Linked DNA regions of Homo sapiens: regions 1 and 2 are each linked to region 3. The links are contacts of gene promoters, found by promoter capture Hi-C in blood cells and fetal thymus (Javierre and others, 2016). All regions are on one chromosome and are shown on one strand. The core of a region is centred on a gene start or on the middle of the fragment in contact, and the rest is flanking DNA. Distances in the headings are between cores, read along the strand shown. Region 1 overlaps SLC1A3-AS1 (SLC1A3 antisense RNA 1). Region 2 has its middle 38 kb from the start of LINC02119. Region 3 holds the start of NUP155 (nucleoporin 155).

What was found. The method cuts DNA at HindIII sites, captures the fragments that hold promoters and counts their contacts. A CHiCAGO score of 5 or more calls a contact.
Region 1: a contact is called between a fragment that was not itself captured here and the fragment with the promoter of NUP155 in region 3, in 1 of 17 cell types (total B cells). The highest score is 6.2, in total B cells.
Region 2: a contact is called between a fragment that was not itself captured here and the fragment with the promoter of NUP155 in region 3, in 1 of 17 cell types (erythroblasts). The highest score is 5.1, in erythroblasts.

Annotation. Positions count from the first base shown.
Region 1 is chr5:36,700,367-36,702,866 of GRCh38, reverse strand. The region is part of intron 1 of SLC1A3-AS1 (SLC1A3 antisense RNA 1); the gene reads left to right. Among named protein-coding and RNA genes, the nearest start is that of SLC1A3-AS1, 24 kb to the left of the region's middle. The HindIII fragment of the contact is 1,017 bases long and covers 742-1,758 here.
Region 2 is chr5:38,184,993-38,188,179 of GRCh38, reverse strand. No RefSeq gene overlaps it. Among named protein-coding and RNA genes, the nearest start is that of LINC02119, 38 kb to the right of the region's middle. The HindIII fragment of the contact is 2,050 bases long and covers 343-2,392 here.
Region 3 is chr5:37,369,662-37,372,510 of GRCh38, reverse strand. It overlaps NUP155 (nucleoporin 155), which reads left to right and starts at 1,405. Exons shown (of 35, transcript NM_153485.3): 1 at 1,405-1,690. The coding sequence starts at 1,534. RefSeq lists enhancers at 1,413-1,502, 1,623-1,732. The HindIII fragment of the contact is 10,669 bases long and covers 395-2,849 here.

The DNA of each region.
Region 1 (2,500 bases), core at 1-2,500, 670 kb after region 3:
TCTGACACATGCAGGAGAGGGGAAGGCAATGTGACCATGGAGGCAGAGAGGGGAGTGATGTGGCCACAAACCAAGGATTGTTGGCAGCTGCCAGTGGCCGAAGGGGCAATGAATGGATTCTCCTTTGGAGCCTCTGGAGGGAGAATGGCCCTGCTAACACCTTGATTTTGGCCCAGTGATACTGATTTTGGACTTCTGCCCTCTAGAACTGTGAGGGAATACTTTTCTGTTGCTTTAAGCCATTGAATTTATGATGATTTGTTACAGCACCCACAGGAAACAAATGCATGGATCTAACTTGAACCTAGTGAGTTAGATTACTTCAGGGAAACACAATAAATAGTTAACAGGGCTTGTCAGGGGGGTGGGAGTGAGATGAAAGTGTGAAGGCAACTTCTATGGTTTACTTTTATATTTCCCTATTTTTCAAATCTTTTGCAAGAAAATGAATTCATATACTATTTTAAAAAACATATAAAATATGAGCAAAAAGATTTATTGTATCTCTTTAAAATAATTTAGAACAAGTAATGGCTGCAGAACCTTAAAGGGTTTTTCTAGCATGTTTCCAAGATACAGTCTTGATTATTTGAGATTGACATGAAGATGGCCCAGACTGTGCCACAACACAGCACTTGACACCAAATGTTAGACTGTAATGGGCCGTGTGAGTATTACTCAGTGTGGCCATTTCATTATCAAATATCTATTTATTTCAGATTTCAAACACGAATACAAGCTTCTCCTTTCTTTCCTTCCTTTCTCTTTTTCTCCTTTCTACAGCAAGTTCAGGAATGTGCTAGGTATGACCTGGGATAGAAAGAGCATATACTCAGCTTTTGCCTTCAAGAAAATTGGATATTGGCTTGGGAGATAAGATAAATGAAAAGGAAGCAGATGATCTGTTATAGAAGAGATAACACTGTAAGCCCAAATGTATGTGATTAAGTTCTAAAAGTGTAAACCAATAGGGAGTGCTGTGAGGTGTCACCACGGGCGCAGATTGCAGCAGATCTGACCATACAAGTGTAAATAAAACCCTATTGAATGCCCCCTCTCCCTCCCCAATTGTTCTGAGTGGTTGCTTCAAGATTTCTTCTCATCGTTCTCAAATTGTTACTGTGAGATTAACTGGCAAACATTTCTCCTTAACATAAGAAGTGTGAATGGAATCCTACCAAGTGATTTTGCCAATAGTTCCTATTCCTGCTGCAAACAGTGGTGTGCTCAGGCTTAAGCTGTAACATGTCCACACTCACCTGTCACTTGGGAATGCCTCTGTTGGAATGCAACATGCCCACTTATCACACAGCCGGCATGAGAGGCAGAGTGGAGTTTAACCAAGCATTCTGCCCCCAAAGTCTGCAGATGTAGCCAGTGCCTTCAGAAAAGGGAAGGGAAACTAACCCTGTTGAGTATCTACTATGTGCTAGGCATTCTGTTAAGCACTTTTACACACATCATTTAATCCTCGTGACAGTATTTAGAAATAGCTATCATTTCCCAGTTCTGTAGATGAGGAAGAAAAGGTAGGCTCAGAGAGGGTAGGTAAGTTGTCTAAGGTCACATAGCTGGTACATAGTAGTAGAGCTAGGGTGCAAACCCAAGATTTTCTGAGTCCAAAGCACATGCCTATTCCATCATTTCGGTAATAAGAATAAATGTCTTTCAAATGTAGTGGTGAGAGATGAATAAAAAGCCGTCCTTGGTGATCCTGGGGAGTCTACACCCTCTGCCTGCCTGGCTCCACATCAAGCTTGTGTTTGCCAGCACTTACACCCCTGCATTTCCCTCCAATCCCTGTCATCTCCCTTGTGGAGTCCTCTCCTCCTCTCCTACCCGTTGGTCCCCTTTTTCACCCATCCTTCAGCCATTTAATGATCTCATCTTTAATTCCTGTTTATAACTCCATGAGCTCCTCGATCACTGTCTCCTGAGATGTCCTTTTTGTCACTGGAACTTGTATTAAAGTGGTTTTGTAATGGGTATTTCTGTTTCTTTTGTCCTACTCTGAATTTCCTGAGGGCAGGGACTACATCTCTTTTATTCTTCTATGTTTCCCTCAGGTTCTGTGGTTATGCATTGGCAATTAGCAATTCTTTCTTTTTTTTTTTTTTTATATGGGATCTCACTGTATTGCCCAGGCTGGTGTGCCTTGGCACAATCTTGGCTCACTGCAGCCTCCACCTCTTGGGTTCAAGTGATCCTCACCACTCAGTCTCTTGAGTAGCTGCTGGGACTACAGGCACGTGCTACCATGCCTGGCTAATTTTTTGTATTTTTTGGTAGAGACAGGGTTTCATCATGTTGGCCAGGCTATTCAAACTCCTGGGCTCCAGTGATCGGCCTGCCTCGGCTCCCAAAATGCTGGGATTACAGGCATGAACCACCATGCCTGGGCTAGCAATTATTTCTTGACTTGAATTGCTTCCTGGTTGCTCACAGAAGTCTGCTGCAACCTCTTCTCCCCAGCTTATTCCTTTTGTGCCACTTCACTCCC
Region 2 (3,187 bases), core at 118-2,617, 820 kb before region 3:
GTATAATTATTTACAATACAACCACAAACTCAATTTAAAAGCCAGTTGAAGTGTAAGGAGCAAACCACAAAGATACAGGTAAACATTTAAAGTGGAGACATCACGGTTCAACAAAGAATTGATTCTCTTCTAGAGCAATCATCTCTAAAGCCCATCTCACATTTCTGAAATGCTGTTACAAATAAAACAGAAATCAGGACAAGAGGAGGTGACAAGAGGCAGGAAAAATGCCAATGATCTGGATTTGGCCAACTTCCTGATGGTGGGCATGTCATCCCGTCACTCTGGCCCTTGCTTTCATCGTGTTTTTTGTCTAAATTGCAGCCAGAAAACACATAAGCTTACCCTCTTAACCATTTTCTAGTGTACAGTATTGTTAACTATATGCCATGCACATTGTTGTATAACAAACAGAGCTCTAGAAAGTTCATTCGGCATGACTGAAACCCTATACCCATTGAATAGCTCCTGGTTCCCTGTGTCCCCAGCCTCTGGCAACCACCATTTGACTTTCTGTTTCTATGAGTTTGATTACTTTAGACACTTTACAGAAGTGGAATCAGGCAATATTTGTCTTTTTTTGTGATTGGCTTATTTCATTTAACCTAATGTCTTTAAGGTATGAACCTTGTTGTAGCATGTACTAGGACTTCCTTCTTTTTAAAAGCTGAATGATATTCCATTTTGTGTATATGCCACATTTTCTTTATCTATTCATTCTACCGATGGCTTTTAGGTTGCTTCCACATCTTGGCAATTATGAAGAATGCTACAATGAATATGGGTGTGCAAATGTCTCTTCGAGATCCTGTTTTCAGTTCTTTTGTAAAAATTCTCAGAAGTGGGATTGCTGAATCATATGGCAATTCTATTTTTAATTTTTCAAGTAATCTCTATACTGTTTTCCATCATGCTGCACCATTTTACAATCCCACCAACAGTGTTTTGTCTTCAGGATTGCACTGCTGAAGCCTGTTTCTTCTCCTGTTACAATTGGAACAAGGGTTCCAATTACTCTACATCCTCATCAACATTTGTTTTCCTGTTTTTTTTTATGGTGGCCATCCTAATGGGGGTGAGGTAATATCTCACTCTGGTTTTGCTTTGCATTTTCCTAATGATTAGTGATGTTGAGCATCTGTGAATATGCTGTTGGTCATTTGTTTATTTTCTTTAGATAAATGTCTGCTGAAGTCCTTTGATCATTTTTTTAATTGAGTTATTTGGTTTTTGTTACTGAGTTGTAGGAGTTCTCTATGTATCCATCATTGAGTATGATGTTAGCTGTGGGGTTTTCATATATGACTTTATTATGTTGAAGTAGTTTTCTTCTATTACTAGTGTGTTGAATGTTTTTATCATGAAAGTTGTTAAATTTTGTGAAATGTTTTTTCTGGATTAACTGAGATAATCATGCCATTTTTGTCCTCTGTTCTTTTGATGTGGTGTATTATATTTATGAATTTTTTATGTTGAACTATCCTTGCATCCCACAGATAAATCCCACGTGATTATAAATGTATAATTCTTTAAATGTGCTATTGTATGCCATTCTCTAGTATTTTCTTGTGAGTTTTTACATCAATACCCATCAGAGATACTGGCCTGTAGTTTTTTTTCTGGTAGTATCCTTGTCTGGCTTTGGTATTAGGGTAATGCTGGCCTCATAACATCAGTTTGGAAGTGTTCCCTCTTCTTCAATATTTTGGACGAGTTTGACAAGGATTGGTGTTAATTCTTCTTTGAATGTTTGGTAGAATTCTCCCATGAAGCCATCTTGTTTTGGGCTTTTCTTTGTTGGGAGATTTTTGATTACTGACTCAATCTCCTTACTAATTATAGGTCTGTTCAGATTTTCTACTTCGTCATGATTGAGTCTGGGTAGGTTATAAGAATTTAACCTTATATAACCTGTTTCTAAGAATTTATCTGTTGTTTCTAGGTTATATAATTTGCTGGTATATAAGTGTTAATAATAGCCTTTATAATCCTTTGTGTTTCTGTGGCATCAGTTGTACCTCCTCTTTCCCGATTTTAGTTATTTGTCATTGTGTTTAAAACGAGGTTGTTGAACTAGATGATTTCTAAGGTCTTTGTAGCTCTGAAATTCTTTGACGCCTCAAAATAACATTTTAAAATGTATTATAAAATATTTAAGACATACAAAATGATATAAAGAAGAATACAATCAATGCCCACCTAGCTTAAGAAATAGAAGTCATCAGTGCAGTAGATAACTTTCTGTGTATCCTTCCCCAAGTGTGCTCTCTGTTCCAGAAGAACTCACTGTTCTGAATTTTGTATTTTTTATTCTCATACATATATTTATGCTTTTTATTATATATATGTGTGCATGTGTAAGAGAAATATATATTTTGTTTACTTTTAAGCTTCATATTAGAAATAAAATATTGTATTTATTAGTCTACAAGTAGATTTTTTTCTAACATTTTGTGAGCTTCATCCTTGTTGATGCACGTAGCAGTTGTTCATTTCCCCTCGCTTTACCCCCACCCCCGTTGTAACACTTAATTATATGAAGGTGCCGCAGTTTCGGTATGCATTGTTGATGAACATCAGGTTGTTTTCATTGTTTTGTTTTAACAATCTTTCTCCAAATATCCATGTATATATCTCCCTGAGCGCTTGTGTGGGATTTGCTCTAATAGAAAACTACCAGGAGGATAGCAAATGTGCATTTGCACCTTGACTAAATAATGCCAAATTTTTCTCTAAAGTAATTGAACCAATGTGTACTCCCACCAGCAGGGCATAAGATCTCCTGTTATTCAATATCCACACCATCACTTGGTAGTATCAGACATGTAATGCCCATTCATACATTTTGGCATAAAATGGTAACCTATTGCAGTTTTCCCTATAATTTCCCTGATAACCACTGTGATTGTTCATTTTGTCTTATGTTCAGTAGCTATTTGTGCTTCCTCTTCTGTGAATGGCTTCCTCATTATTTTTTGCCTGCCTCTGATTTTTACCATGGGTGGACTGTATTTACGCTCTATCCCAGGAAAGACATAGATTGCCTGACCAGATCTCACCACTGTGAACCGCATTCTTGAAAAATTTCTAACATAGCTCCCACTTGTGCCACAAGACTGTGTGGGCGAGGATCACCTTTCCTTAGTGCATTCAATGTACCCATGTTTCCTTCATACCAGCCAGTGCA
Region 3 (2,849 bases), core at 156-2,655:
ACTTTGGGGAGCTTTACTTCTATGCAGGAATATCACAGCAACGTTGTTGAATCTTCCAATTTATGGAGTTGAAAACTTTGTGTATTTTGTCTCAAATTAAAAACAAACTCGGTGCCAGACCACCACTTTTCAATCTATGGTCTACCAAATAAAGTAAACTCACAGCTAGAGACCCAACTGCCTATCTATATACCAATGATAAAAAATCCAGTTTTTCTTGGTATATTGGCTATGTCAAATTTTAAGTGTAGATTGGTAACATCAAAGAACTTTCAATTTTCAGAAATGTAGTCAAGTCTTTGAGGGAGTAAAAATGTAATTCAAATAGCAAAAGACCAATTTAGAGTAATTCAGTTATTGATTTGTGAAATTCTGAAGAACATAACTGGAAGCTTTCTTAGGTGAGATTCTAAATAAGAGCAGCTTTCTAAAAAGTGCTTTGATTTACCCACTCAGGTTGCCTTCTGTAGTAAATGAAGCCTCTTTTACCTCTCTGCTTTCTCCTATCCTGCTATAGTTTATACCTATCCAAATAGAAAAATTATAATGAAGCCCTTTGTCTCTGCTTGAAGCACCTTAAGGACAGGAAACACTGTGTTAGTTTGATAGTCCCAGCACCAGGCACAAGGCAAGTATTCAGTTTCTTAGGATTGTATGAACTCTTGGGTTCCTATCTCATACGAGTTCCTATACTAGCGCTGGGAATGGAAAGATGAATTAGAACTGTCTGCTATCTCTGCCACGATAAAAAGCACGGCAGCGGTCCACCTGCACTCAGCTTCTTCTTAAACACGTATTTTATACTAAGGGGCAACAAAGTCAAAAGACAGCGACACGCAAATGGAAAAGCCTGATGAATTCTAATTTACACTGAAGCCCGCGAAGAATATAGTGAGATACTGGTTTATATCCCTCTCTGTGACAGCGACCTACCAATTCTTAACTACTCTCACAAAAGCAGTTACTTGGAGAACCAAACTGCGCGCTCATGCGCGAACTCATATAGCTGCAGTTAGCGGATACCGACGCGGGAAGTTCCAAGACTCAGGTCGAGCACGCGCTTAAACCAACGGAACCTGACCAACCTCCTAGGCCAGACACACGACCTAGCTCCCACCTACCGTATCCCTCCTCCCTCCTTCCTCCTCACCCTATCCAACCCCATCCCGCCCCTCTCCTTCCCTGTTCCCTCCCCTTTATCCTTCCCTTCCTTTCCCTCCCTCCCTTCCCTAAATAACCTACCCTAATTTTACCCTGCCACACCCCAAAACCCTCAACCCCCTCGAAAGCATCAGCAGCCTCCTAGCTCCACCCACAACCTCTAGCCCCCTCCCAACAGCTTCCTCTTCCCAGGCCAGAACGGCGTCTTCCAGTTCCCCACCGGATGAAGCGGAAGTGCGTCATGTCGAGGCGCCAAGGCGCTCGTTTGGCGCGCGCGCCCTAGGCGGCGGATCTAAGCTAACTTCTTGGATCTTTTCTTGTTTCTCCTTGGTTTTTGACTTTTTCTGGACCCTGGTGTCTACGATTTCCGAGATGCCGTCTTCTTTGTTGGGCGCGGCGATGCCGGCCTCTACATCTGCCGCAGCCCTGCAGGAAGCTCTGGAAAATGCTGGACGGCTCATCGACCGTCAGTTGCAAGAGGACCGCATGTACCCGGACCTTTCCGAGCTGCTTATGGTGTCTGCCCCAAGTGAGTGATAGTGACCCTGCTTTCTCAACCTAAAGGACTCTCGCCTGACTTCCTAATTTGCTACTTATCCCCAGCGTTGGTCCCGGCGAGGATATGCTGAGATTTATGGCACTGTTGGCTGCATTTTTGGAGAACAGCAAGCAGCTTCTTTTCAGGTTTTTTCCTTTCCTCACTTTCTTCATTGTAGATACTTGAGAGGGCAAGAGTGAAGAGCAAGCTCCCAGTTGAAGCAGAAAGAGGCAAAGACCTCAACCTTAATGAGCTTCTCGCCGCTCTCAAGTGCTTATGGCTAAGGCCATATGAGAAGCATCTCCAGATCCAAGTCCCAAATTTGTTCATTTCTCCTGTTAGTGTTTGAGTAGATCGTAAGAGCAAACGAAGTTAATTTGGAAATTTAGCATGTTATCTTAAAGATACGCTTTGCTTTATATTTATTTGTTTATTTATTGAGACGGAGCGGTTCCCTCTTCGCCCAGGCTGAAGTGCAATGGCGCGATCTCGGCTCATTGCAACCTCCGCCTCCTGGGTTCAAGCGATTCTTCTGCCTCAGACTCCCAAGTAGCTGAGATTACAGGCGCCTGCCACCAAGCCCGGCTAATTTTTGTGTTTTTTAAGTAGAGACGGGGTTTCACCATATTGGCCTGGCTGGTCACGAACTCTGACCTCAAGTGATCCGCCCGCCTCGGCCTCCCAAAGTGCTGGGATTACAGGCGCAAGCCACTGCACCCGGCCAAGAAACGCTTTATTATGTGTAGAGATGTGTGTTATGAAATGCTGGAGGATCTTAAAAGAACTACCAGTGGAATAAAGAAAGAGAACAGGGAAATCACAGTGCTTATGTACAGGGAGAGTAAGGCAGAATATGTGTTGACAATATAGGTGACTGGAAAGTAATTTGTTTAACAGTTTTAAGTTATAACCAGCTCCCCACGGCTTATGGAATTACATCAGTTGCTAGAAAAAGTGACCCCTTTGTGAGATGGAATTTGGAGAAAACCAGCGAAGTGTAAGAAAGAAAAGATTGTTGGTGAGCAAGAACCAAAGTAATCTAAATAGGATAATTTGTGCAGTGTAAACCGAGAACACTTCTGATTATTTATAAAAATCATTGATAGCTTTGTAATCAAAGAAATGATAGAAACAAAGATAGTATTTGCTC